Regions from separate parts of the Homo sapiens genome. Here region 2 is linked to region 1. The links are contacts of gene promoters, found by promoter capture Hi-C in blood cells and fetal thymus (Javierre and others, 2016). All regions are on one chromosome and are shown on one strand. Each heading gives the region's core, a stretch centred on a gene start or on the middle of the fragment in contact. The rest is flanking DNA. Distances are from core to core; before and after follow the strand shown.

Evidence for each region. The method cuts DNA at HindIII sites, captures the fragments that hold promoters and counts their contacts. A CHiCAGO score of 5 or more calls a contact.
Region 2: a contact is called between a fragment that was not itself captured here and the fragment with the promoter of MCM10 in region 1, in 4 of 17 cell types (naive CD8 T cells, naive CD4 T cells, total CD8 T cells and 1 more). The highest score is 6.4, in naive CD8 T cells.

Annotation. Positions count from the first base shown.
Region 1 is chr10:13,157,844-13,164,201 of GRCh38, reverse strand. It overlaps MCM10 (minichromosome maintenance 10 replication initiation factor), which reads right to left and starts at 2,644. Exons shown (of 20, transcript NM_018518.5): 1 at 2,596-2,644; 2 at 1-74. It also overlaps the pseudogene BTBD7P1 and the pseudogene RPL36AP36. RefSeq lists silencers at 2,380-2,559, 2,582-2,895. The HindIII fragment of the contact is 4,789 bases long and covers 1,928-6,358 here.
Region 2 is chr10:13,304,197-13,310,554 of GRCh38, reverse strand. It overlaps the pseudogene RBISP1. Among named protein-coding and RNA genes, the nearest start is that of PHYH, 7.3 kb to the right of the region's middle. The HindIII fragment of the contact is 1,398 bases long and covers 2,267-3,664 here.

The sequences.
Region 1 (6,358 bases), core at 1,395-3,894:
CTGTCAAGAGGACAGTTGTGACAGGAAACTTCGAAGGAGGCTCAGATGCCCAGATGAGCAATGTAGAATCTTGGCTGTGTGAAAGCAATATTAGAAATGTCACTTTCAATTCTTCTCTTTCTCTCACAACACACATCCAACAAACCCAGAATCCTACCACTCCTATGGGCTCTAACCTCAGAATTCATCCAGAATCTGACCATTTCTCACCTCCTCTCTCCACACCGCCAATGCCATCTCCTTCCTTGGATGTAGCAGCTCACTTTTACTTGTGTTTAAGGTTACAGAAAGTTATTGAGCTGCAGAGCAGTTTGTAAATCACACTAGATTACGTGGATGAGATAAATTATGAGGAAGAACTATTGGGGTTGGCTAGGTACAGTGGCTCAACGCCTGTAATACCAGCACTTTGGGAAGCTAAGGTGGGCGCATCACTTGAGGCCAGAAGTTTGAGACCAGCCTGGTCACATAGCAAGACCTTGTCTTTTTTAAAAATTACACACACACACACACAAATTATTGGGGTCGATCTACATTAGGCTATTCTTTCATTTTATTCACTGTAATACACCTGACATCTGCGTTATCCACGACAGCTTACTGTATGATTCTACTTAGGTGGAGCCTTAGTGACAATCAGGATTTTGATTCAATACTAGTCAGCAAAGCACAGAGAAACAGCGTAGCTAATTAAGACAAAGTTGTATCACTTTGTGCACTTCTCTTTTCATTTAAGGTTATTTTTTAAACTGCAAGTAAGAAAGTATACATTTTTCTAGGCTCTTATTTAACTTACATGTGCTCTTTGGCAAGTTCAATGTCAAGGAACTAATTACAGTGATTATGGTACTTTCTTTTCTTTTTTTAGACAGGATCTCGCTCTGTCGCTGGGGCTGGAGTGCAGTGGTGCTATTGGCTCACTACAACCTCCGCCTCCCAGGCTCCAGTGATTCTCCTGCCCCAGCCTCCCAAGTAGCTGGGATTACAAACGTGCACTACCACACCCGGCTAATTTTTGTGTTTTTTGTAGAGACAGGGTTTCGCCATGTTGCCCAGGCTGGTCTTGAACTCCTGATGTCAAGTGATCCATCAGCCTTGGACTCCCAAAGGTGCTTTTTTTTTTTTTTGAGACGGAGTCTCTGTCACCCAGGCTGGAGTGCAATGGGGCGATCTTGGCTCACTGCAAGCTCCGCCTCCCGGGTTCACGCCATTCTCCTGCCTCAGCCTCCCGAGTAGCTGGGACTACAGGCGCCCGCCACCACGCCCGGCTAATTTTTTGTATTTTTAGTAGAGATGGGGTTTCACCGTATTAGCCAGGATGGTCTCGATCTCCTGACCTGGTGATCCGTCCGCCTTGGCCTCCCAAAGCGCTGGGATTACAGGCGTGAGCCACCGCGCCTGGCCGCTTTTTAAAAATTCATTCAACCAACATTTCCACGGATCCCTCATGTGCCACACACTGTGCTATCTACTGGGGAACCTATTGGACAGTAAGCTTCCTGAGCGTTAGGAGCAAACTGTCTCGTTCAAGTCTGTAACCGGCCTTGCCTTCCCCCAAAATGAAACTGTGCACCCTCCCTCGCCCTCAAATCCACGGCCACTGACAAGTACTGTGGTCCCATCTCCAAAACACTGCTCAAATCTGCCACTTCTCTCCAACTTCACTGCCAGAACCCTAGGCCAAGCCACCGTCAACCTTTAACCCAATGACTGTGTTAGCTTTCTATGTTGGTCTCTTTGTCCCCGTGCAATCTGTTCTGCATACGACAGCCACGGTAATCTTCCCTTTCCTTAGTAACCTTTAGGAACATAAATCAGATCATGGGGGTCCCTTCATTGAAATTCTTTAATGATTTTCCATTGCCCTTAGAAAAAATCTACAAAGCCTGCGAGGCAATGATTCATATTCTCTCTCTCTTTCCAAGCTTTCTACTCCCTCACATTTTCCACAATCCACCACGTCCAATTCTACCCACCCCGACACCCATAACGATGCTCCAGCCGGGCCAGCCCGCTTCCACCTTCTGGAACACACTAAGCTGCTTTGAGGTCTCAGGCTCTGTCGAAGAAAGCTCCCCCCAGGTCCTTCTCGCCCTTCGGTCTCCACTTACTCATCTTTCTGAGACTTTCTGGACCACCCTGAGTCGTCCACTGTCGTGCATTTGTTTACTACCTGCTCGTGCCTTTAAACTGTAAGCGCTGTGAAGGCAGCGGAAATGTGATCCGAGCCATGCACACCGTCCGCATTCAATAATCATTGGCAAATCATGAATACGAGAAACCAATGAATGAATGAATGAATGAATGAATAAAAGAAAGCCCAGGCGGCAGGCACTTGGCAAGCACTTAAAAGGCTGCGTTTAAAAGGAAGAACCCGATTCCTTAGTAGACGGCCAGCAACTCCCAGCCCCCGGCCCGGCCATGCCAGCTCCGAGCGGTCCCAAGCTGCCGCCAAATCCAGATCGCGCCCACCCGAGCTCCCGGGACCCCGCGCCTCTAGCCTCGGACCCCTTGCAACCCGCGCAGAGACGTGCGAGGCGGCCCCGGCCCCGCCGCCCGAGGGTCACACGCACGCCCGGGGCCCGCGCTCCTCACCCGATGCCGGGACGCCTTCTTCGTTCACAGCTGAACCCGCCAAAATTCCAACCGGATCCCGCCCCTGCCTTGACGTCAGACGCACGCGGCTGTGGGGCAGCACTGACTGGCTACGCCAGCGAATCCCGGCCCTGGCACAGAGCAATCGGATTGGTTTACGTCATTGGACGCCCTCTTTGTTGGGGGCAAGGGACCTTCCTGTCGGTAGAAGCCAGTCTCCTTTAGGTAAAATAGAGTGTCTGGCGCCCCCTGGTGCCGGGAAGTTTAAGTCATCCCACCCAGTATTTTCCCTGCGGTCCCATCCCACCTCAACTCCTGACGCTCTGGGACCGACTGTTCCTTTGTCAGCCTTATGTCCATTCGAAATGTTTGGGCTCAGGACCAAACAGATCCGGTCCACTTTTACCCTGTCTGACCTTGGGGAAGTGACTTATCTCTCTGAGTTTCCCCTTCACCATCTGTGCAGTGAGGGAAAGGGTAGATGACATCTTTTACACTGAAACCACCATTTCCCGAGTAATTCCTGTTCCATAGATTTTGGGACTTCTAAGGGGCGTCAGGGCTGAAGAGAACTTATCAGCAGACCATATCTTTCACAGATTTTTTTTTCAGTAAAATTCAGGCCTCTTTATGTATTTACATTCTAAAAAATAGTGTTTGTACATAATACTAAGAACATAGTTTCTAAATGCAGAATAACATTTAGCTTTTACATAATTTCAAGGGATTGATAGCAGAAGAGACTTTGATGGACCAAATGGCCACTTTAAGTCTTTCCCCCCTTTTCCTCCTTGCAGACACTGTTCAGGCACTGCAGTTCCCCCACTAATAATCCCTTTGGTATAAGATCCTATCTCTATCCACTACGTACTTTCATTTTCAGAACAATTAAAATCGACTTTAGGAAGACTGAAGATAAACAGTCCTGATGCCATCTACGTTGACTTTTTTCTGTGTCCTAATGGAATATTACTGCTCCATTTATGAGCTCAGCCCTATTACTTAAACCTATATTGGCTCAGGAATAGGAATACAACCATTTCTGAGAGCTGCTAGTGTTAAAAATTCATAGTAATGGAGGAACTCTAGTAATCAAATTGAAAAAGTATGTTTAAATGCGTACTTTTAAACATACGGCACTAAGGCCGGGCACGGTGGCTCACCCCTGTAATCCCAGCACTTTGGGAGGCCGAGGTGGGTGGATCACGAGGTTAGGAGTTCGAGACCAGCCTGGCCAACATGGTGAAACCCCATCTCTACTAAAAACACACACAACACAAAAATTAGCTGGGCGTAGTGGTGCGCGTCTGTAATCCCAGCTACTTGGGAGGCTGAGGCGGAGAATCGCTTGAACCTGGGAGGTGGCGATTGCAGTGATGAGCCGAGATCTCGCCACTGCACTCCAGCCTGGCGACAGAGCCAGACTCTGTCTAAATAAATAAATAAATAAATAAATAAATAAATAAATAAATGCATCACTACATCTAGTTATTAAAAAAAAAAGATTCGTCATAGATTTATTCTTAGCCATTATGCAGAAATTCCTTGACTAATTCTGATCAGTACTCTGAAGTTCTTTTCTTCACCTTCACTTTCCAGGTCCTCTTTGCATCCAGTTCCGGGCAAGGAGTCAGAAACAGAACCAACCTAAGCCCGCAAACCTTCCTTAAGTGAAGAATCAAGCACTTTTTATTGGAATTAGTATAGTGGTGACTTTGAGAAAAGAAGTGGAGGTGATTTTGAGAAACAATTAGGCAAATAGATTTTTTAAAATCCATTGAATGTGGCTTTTCCGTGCCGATAGCGCTCACACAAACATTACGAAGTTTCCTAAAACCCGCCAGACTTTCTATAAGAAGTGTGGCAAGCACCAACCCCACAAAGTGACACTGTACACGAAGGAGAAGGATTCTCTGTATGCCCAGGGAAAGCGGCGTTATGACAGGAAGCAGAGTGGCTATCGTGGGCAAATTAAGCCGATTTTCCAGGAAAGGGCTAAAACTACAGAAAATTGTGCCAAGGCTTGAGTGCGTTGAGCCCAGCTGCAGCTCTAAGAGAGTGCTGGCTATTAAAATATGCTAGCATTTTGAACTGGGAGGAGGTAAGAAGAGAAACGGCCAAGTGATCCAGTTCTAAGTGTCATGTTTTCTTTTATTATGAAGACAATAAAATCTTGAGTTTATATTTTTAAAACATCCATTGAATGTGGAGATATTAGCGAGAAGGAAGCAGAGAGGGGATGGGGAGACAGGTTTAGGATGACTGTTAGGTTTCTGATTTATACAATAGGGTCGTTTTTGAGGTTGTGCACTGAAGTAGGAGACATAGGAAGAACGGAACAGGTTTAGGGGAGAAGATAGATTTAGTTTTCTATTTCAGAATGAGATGTATGAGAGATGCTGATTAAGAAAGGCACGGTAGCCAGCTTGATCTCCAGATCTGGGGTTCTAAGGAGAGGCCTGGACTCTCCTTAGAATACAAACGAAGGCCAAAAAAGAACAGCTCTGACAGTTATCAACATCTATCTAAAATGAAATCTAAAGCAAACAGCCCATATTGCAGTGGTCCTTAACCTTTTTTGGGCGGTAGGAGGATGTTTATCACAGACCCCTTTAATGTATTAAAAGTGGGCCGGGCACGGTGGCTCATGTCTGTAATCCCAGGACTTTGGGAGGCCGAAGCTGGCAGATCACCTGAGGTCAGGAGTTCGAGACCAGTCTGGCCAACATGGTGAAACCTCATCTCTACTAAAAAAAATGCAAAAATGAACCGGAAGTATTGGCGCATGCTTGTAATCCCAGCTACGCGGGAGGCTGAGGCAGTAGAATCGCTTGAACCCGGAAGACGGAGGTTGCAGTGGGCCGAGATCGGCCACTGCACTCCAGCCTAGGCAACAAGAGCAAAACTCCGCCTCAAAAAAACAAAAAACAAAAAAAAACACAAAAAGTCCAAGCCGAGCCCTTCCTGCTCCCTCTAGGAATCAAAATGGCGGCGAGGGAAAACTGGAGCAGTCCCGGAGCCTGAGCCACTGACAGGAGAGGAGAGGGCGGCGGCGGCGGTGGGAGGAGGATGGCGGCGGTGTGCTGGCGCCGGTGCCTGCCGCGGTGCTGGTGGCGGAGGCGGCGGGGGCGACGGCCGAGGTCCCTGCGGCAGCAGCAGCAGCGGCGGCGGGAGGAGCCTCCAGGTCGATTGAACTGTGGATGAGGAACCTACGGAATACGAAGGGCAGACTGTATAGTAAACACTTGAGGATGCTTGCTGTGTGGTTCTTACAGAATGCACTGTCCGTGTGTCTGGCTGCCCACAGCCTTTCATACTTCAATAGTATGCACTAAAGTAAGGTCTAATGGCCCTGTTCTCATAGAAATAGATGGAAAGAGGCTGCTGGATCCAGGGTTGAAGGTTCCTAATGGCCTCTAGGATTATACTCTGAAGAACCCGCAGACGGAATGCCTGAATGACTGAAGAAAATGGGTGCTAATGCATCTCATTATCCTCATCCATGTTCCGCGAAGGTAGGGGGAAATTCACAGGCCCAACAGACTTTTATAGGGACGTCATCCTATTCTCAGCAAGGCTATGGTTGTGAATCAAAATTGTATAGCCTTGACCATGGCCATGAGAAACCACAAGACAAAAAAAAGAGGCCGGGCACGGTGGCTCACGCCTGTAATCCCAGCACTTTGGGAGGCCGAGACGGGCGGATCACGACGTCAGGAGATCGAGACCATCCTGGCTAATATGGTGAAACCCTGTCTCTACT
Region 2 (6,358 bases), core at 1,716-4,215, 150 kb before region 1:
TAGACAGGCAAATTTAAACAATATGAAGTCTTTTTATTTTTTGCCTACCTAATTGGCAAGAATTTAAAAAGGGTAAGGTGGCCGGGCACGGTGGCTCACACCTATAATCCTAACACTTTGGAAGGCCGAGGTGGGTGGATCACCTGAGGTCGGGAGTTGGAGAGCAGTCTGACCAACATGGAGAAACCCCGTCTCTACTAAAAATACAAAATTAGCAGGGCGTGGTGGTGCATGCTTCTTTCTAATCCCAGCTACTCAGGAGGCTGAGGCAGGAGAATCGCTTGAACCCGGGAGGCGGAGGTTGCAGTGAGCCGATATCGTGCCATTGCACTCCAGCCTGGGCAACAAGAGCAAAACTCCATCTCAAAAAAATTAAAAAAAAAAAAGGGGATAAGGCCCAGGTTTTGTCAATGCTCAATGCTCATTGATAACAGCATTTTGAGACTTGTTTGGCAATATTGAAATGTTTAATAGCCTTTGACTAGCAACTCTATGTCAATAATTTATCCTAAGGAAATATCCATGGGACTACCCAACACTGAAAATCAGCACATTCATCAAATTATTTACAATTGTAAGCAAAAAAGAAAGAAAGGAAAAGAAAACATAAACTTACATATAGTAATAGGACATTGGTTCAATGAATATAGGAAAATCCACAGGCTAGAATGCTATGAAGTCATCAAAAATCAGGTCTTAGGCTGGGCACAGTGACTCACAACTGTAATACCAGCACTTTGGGATGCTGAGGCGGGCGGATCACCTGAGGTCAGGAGTTCGAGACCAGCCTGGCCAACATGGCAAAACTCCGTCTCTACTAATAATAAAAAAATTAGCCAGGCGTAGTGGCGCACACCTGTAATCCCAGCTACTCAGGAGGCTGAGGCACAAGAATCGCTTGAACCCCAGAGGCAGAGGTTGCAGTGAGCTCAGACAGTGCCATTGCCCTCCAACCTGGGTGACAGAATGAAACTGTGTCTCAAAAAAAAAAAAAAAAAAAAAACAGGTCTTATGGCATTTAAAATACGGAAATATTCACAATGTAATAATGAGTTTTGAAAAACAACTCTATATGCAGTATGATTCCAATTTATGTATTTATGTATGTAAGTAAGTGTGTTTTTATTGAGACAGTCTCATTCTGTCACCCAGGCTGGAGTGCAGTGGCATGATCATGGCTTACTGCAGCTTTGACCTTCCAGGCTCAAGAGATCTTCCCACCTCAGCTTCCTGAGTGGCTATGACTACAGGCACACCACCGCGCCTGGGCTAATTAAAAAAAAATTATTGTAGAGATGGGGGTCTCACTTTGTTTCCCAGGCTAGTCTTGAAATCCTGGGCTCAAGTGATCGTCCCACTCTGGCCTCCCAAAGTGTTGGGATTACAGGTGTGAGCCACCACACCCAGCAGTCTTTTTTGGTGTTGTTTTTTTGTTTTGTTTTGAGACAGGGTCTCACTCTATCACCCAGGCTGGAGTGCAGTGATGCAATCTCGGCTCACTGCAACGTCTGCCTTCCAGGCTCAAGCCATTCTCCTGCCTCAGCCTCCAGAGTAACTGGGACTACAGGTGCACGCCATATGTCCGGCTAATTTTTTTGTTTCTTGGTTTTTTTTTTTTTTTTTTTTTGAGACGGAGTCTCGCTCTGTCACCCGGGGGGAGTGCAGTGGCGCAATCTCGGCTCACTGCAAGCTCCACCTCCTGGGTTCACGCCATTCTCCTGCCTCAGCCTCCCGAGTAGCTGGGACTACAGGCGCCCACCACCACGCCCGGCTGATTTTTTGTATTTTTAGTAGAGACGGGGTTTCACCGTGTTAGCCAGGATGGTCTCGATCTCCTGACTTCAAGTGATCCACCCACCTCGGCCTCCCAAAGTGCTGGGATTACAGGCTTGAGCCACCAGCCCACACCCATCAGTTTTTTAAATGTTTCTTTTTGAGACTCTGTTTCAAAAAAAAAAAAAAAATTATCTGTAATTCTACCTCAAAAGTCACGTTTTTGGAGACTATGTATTCATGGTAAAATGTCTATGCTGTAATCTAAGGTGAAAAAAAGATGCGGCGTCACCTGGAGTTTAAGAAGCTGCACGCAAGTATTGAATTCCTGACAATGGCCAAGAACAAATTTAGAGGGCAGAAGTCCAGGAACGTATTTCGCATAGCTAGCCAAAAAAGCTTTAAGGCTAAAAACAGAGTAAAACCAATTACCGCTAATCTTAAGAAGATACACATTATGAATGATGAAAAAGTCAGCAGAGTAAACAAAGCTTTTGGAAGTGTACAAGAGGAACTTCCACATTTCTCAAAAGGCCTTTCTCTTGATCTTCTGCAGAAAGAGCTGATTCCTCAGCAGCGTCATCAGAGCAAACCAGTTAATGTTGATGAAGCTACAAAACTAATGGCTCAGCTGTAACACACTGGTGATGCACCTAATTCTCCACAAAGACCAATAAATTAAGTGTTTTCTACCAAAAACAGATGCAATGCAGTCTATTCAGTGTATTCAGTGTGATACCAACTTTGAAAAAATATATACGTATGTATGTATGTACCTGTATAAAATGTATATTTTTCAACTAAATGTGAATGGGAAAAAATATAGTGAATTGTAACAGTGGTTTTCTTGTGAAGAGCAGCCACATGAGTTAATTTTAGAGGTTTTTTTTCCCTGTATTTTTTCTTTTTTCTTTCTTTCTTTCTTTCTTTTTTTTTTTTTTTTTTTGAGATGGAGTTTTGCTCTTGTTGCCCAGGCTGGAGTGCAGTGGCGCTATCTCGGCTCACTGCAACCTCCACCTTCTGGGTCCAAGCAATTCTCCTGCCTCAGCCTCCCAAGTAGCTGGGATTACAGGCATGCACCACCACACCCGGCTAATTTTGTATTTTTAGTAGAGATGGGGTTTCTCCACGTTGGTCAGGCTGGTCTTGAACTCCTGACCTCAGGTGATCCACCCGCCTCGGCCTCCCAAAGTGCTGAGATTACAGGCGTAAGCCACTGCTCCTGGCCTAAATTAAGTGTTTTATACAAAAAAAGATGCAATGTAGTGTATTCAGTGTGATATTAACTTTGAAAAAATATATACATATATATGTATATACCTGTATAAAATGTATGTATTTCAACTAAATGTGAATGGGAAAAATAGAATGAATTTTAACAACGGTTTTCTTGCAAAGAGCAGCCACATGGGTGAATTTTAGGGGTTTTTTCCCTATATTTTTTCAAATATTCTACAATATATGTGTATTATTATTGATCACAAAACATTGGGTCATTTAAATATATATGTAATATATAATGTAAACTAATATGATTTTTAAAAAATTTTTTGAGACAAGGTCTCACTCTGTTGCCCAGGTGGGAGTGCAGTGGTGTGATCATGGCACACTGTAGCCTCTGATTCCCGGGCTCAAGTGATCCTCCCGCCTCAGCCTCCTGAGTACCTGGGACTACAGGCACACCACGATCATGTCCAGCTAGTTTTTTAGCTTTTTTTCATAGAGATGGGGTCTTGCTGTGTTTCCCAAGATGGTCTCAAACTCTTGGCTTCCCAAAGTGCTGGGATTACAGGCCTGAGCCACCATGGCTGGCCAAATTAATATGATCACATAGCCATACAAAGTGGGGGCCAGCAGTGGGGAAGGTCAGTTCACCGCTGGCTGCCAAGCTTTGTGCACAAAGCAAGCCTCGCCCACCAGGCAGACTGTGGCAGAATCAACTTTTCTGTAGTGCCAACATGAGATGATTAACGCCAACATGAAAGTATACATAAATCCCGGCACTTTGGGAGGCCGAGGCGGGCAGATCACCTGAGGTCGGGAGATCGAGACCAGCCTGATCAACATGGAGAAACCCCGTCTCTACTAAAAATACAAAATTAGCCGGGCATGGTGGTGCATGCCTGTAATCCCAGCTACTTGGGAGGCTGAGGCAGGAGAATCACTTGAACCTGGGAGGCGGAGGTTGTGGTGAGCCAAGATTGCGCCATTGCACTCCAGCCTGGGCAACAAGATCGAAACTCTGTCGGAAAAAAAAAATAAAGAATACATAAAGGGCCATGGAAATACAACAGTTTCCAATGAGAAGTTTCTTTCTTTCTGCATTTTGGACAATTTAGAATTAAAACACCACCTTCCCTTTGCTGTCAAGCAGCCTCTGTGATTCCAGCCTCCCTGCACACACACGTGTTCCATTCATATCCATGGGGAACTGACACACAGAATGGAAGGTGTGTGCGCGCATGCGTGCATGTGTGTGTGTGTGCATGTATGTGTATATGTGTGTGTGTATGAGTGTGTGTGTGTGATTTCTTTCCCTATTTCCTTCCTTTCTGCCCTCCTTCACCCTAACATACCTTAGCCCTCACTCTTCCTGCACCTGCTGCCTTGTCCCCTGCCCTGTGTCGTTTAGAGCCTGGGCATGGCACTGCCTTTCCCTCTGCTTACGTGGATCATTGCTGTACCCCCTCCTATGTTTCCCTGTTTCTTTTAGACAGCTCGGTACAAATTAGGTACCCAATAATTGTGTAGAGGTTTGCTGGTTGATTTGTGTTTATTTCATGGTAGATCATTTACCCCGGGCCTCTCAATCCAAATAATTCCATAAGTGATAATTTTATTCTTTCCTCTTCTCCCAGATTTACACACCTATATTTCTTAGTTTCTAATTTAGGTTGGAAGATGAGATATTTCTTTGCACCACAGATGTCTCCATTCTTCAGACTTGTTTTCATTATAGCTGACATCAGAAATGGGCTTCGAGAAAAGCAGGAGATCCTCTCGCTTCAGCCTCCTGAATAGCTGGGACTACAGGTGCGTACCACCACACCTGGCTATTTTTTTTTGAGACGAAGTCTCGCTCTGTTGCCCAAGCTGGAGTGCAGTGGCGCGATCTCAGCTCACTGCAACTTCCCCTTCCCAGGTTCAAGCGATTCTCCTGCCTCAGCCTCCTGAGTAGCCAGGACTGCAGGCATGCGTCACCATGCCCAGCTAGTTTTTGTATTTTTAGTAGAGACAGGGTGTTGGCCAGGCTGGTTTCAGACTCCTGTCTTCAGGTGATCCGCCCACCTCGGCCTCCCAAAGTGCTGGGATTACAGGCGTGAGCTACCGCACCCAGCCTACATACCTGGCTAATTTTTAAACTTTTTGCAGAGATGGGGTCTTGCAATGTTGCCCAGGCTGGTTTTGAACTCCTGGCCTGAAGTGATCCTTCTGCCTTAGCCTCTGAAAATGCTGGGATTACAGGTGTGAGCCACTATATTCTAAACGAACTTTAAAACTTGTAACCAAATGACCTCACCTACAGTAATATCTATTCTCAGAGTTTTTGAATCTGGAGTTGATTGCAGATAATTTTTTATTCATATAATGACATTTCCTTAAGTGTGTACAATGCTTGAACAACTTATTATTGTTATTATTATTATTTTTGGAATCTCTCTCTGTTGCCCAGGCTGGAATACGGTGGTGCAGTCTCACCTCACTGCAACATTTGCCTCCCGGGTTCAAGCGATTCTCCTGCCTCAGCCTCCTGAGTAGCTGGGACCACAGGCGCCCACCACCATGCCTGGCTAATTTTTTTATTTTTTTAGTAGAGACAGGGTTTCACCATTTTGGCCAGGCTGGTCTCAAACTCCTGACCTTGTGATCCACCCGCCTCAGCCTCCCAAAATGCTGGATTACAGGCATAAGCCACCACACCCAGCTAACTTTTTAAACTTTTTAAAATAAATTTTAGAGATAGGATCTCTATCACTCAGGCTGGAGTACAGTAGGGGATCATGGCTCACTGCAGCCTAGAACCCTGAGCTCAAGCAATCCTCCTGCCTCAGACTCTGGAGTAGCTAGGACTACACGTGCGCCACTGCACCCCGCTATTTCTTTTTAAAATTTTTTGTAGAGGCGAAGTCTTGCTATGTTGCCCAGGCTGGTCTCGAGCCTCTTGGTTCAAGCAATCCTCTGCCTCGACCTGCCAAAGTGCTGACATTACAGGCGGGAGCCACCATGCTTGGCTTCAACTATTTATTTATTTATTTAATTTATTATTTTGTTTTTGAAACACAGTCTTGCTCTGTCGCCCAGGCTGGAGTGCAGTGGCACAATATTGGCTCACTTCAACCTCCACCTCCTGGGCTCAAGCGATCCTCCCACATCAGCCTCTCAAGTGGCTGGTACTACAGGTGTGCCACGCTCAGCTAATTTTCTGGGGTTTTTGTTTGTTTGTTTGTTTTCTGGTTTTCGTTTTTGTGTTTGTTTCTTTGTTTGAGATGGAGTTTCACTCGTGTTGCCCAAGCTGGAGTGCAATGACGCTATCTCGGCTCACTGCAACCTCCACCTCCCGGGTTCAAGCGATTCTCCTGCCCCG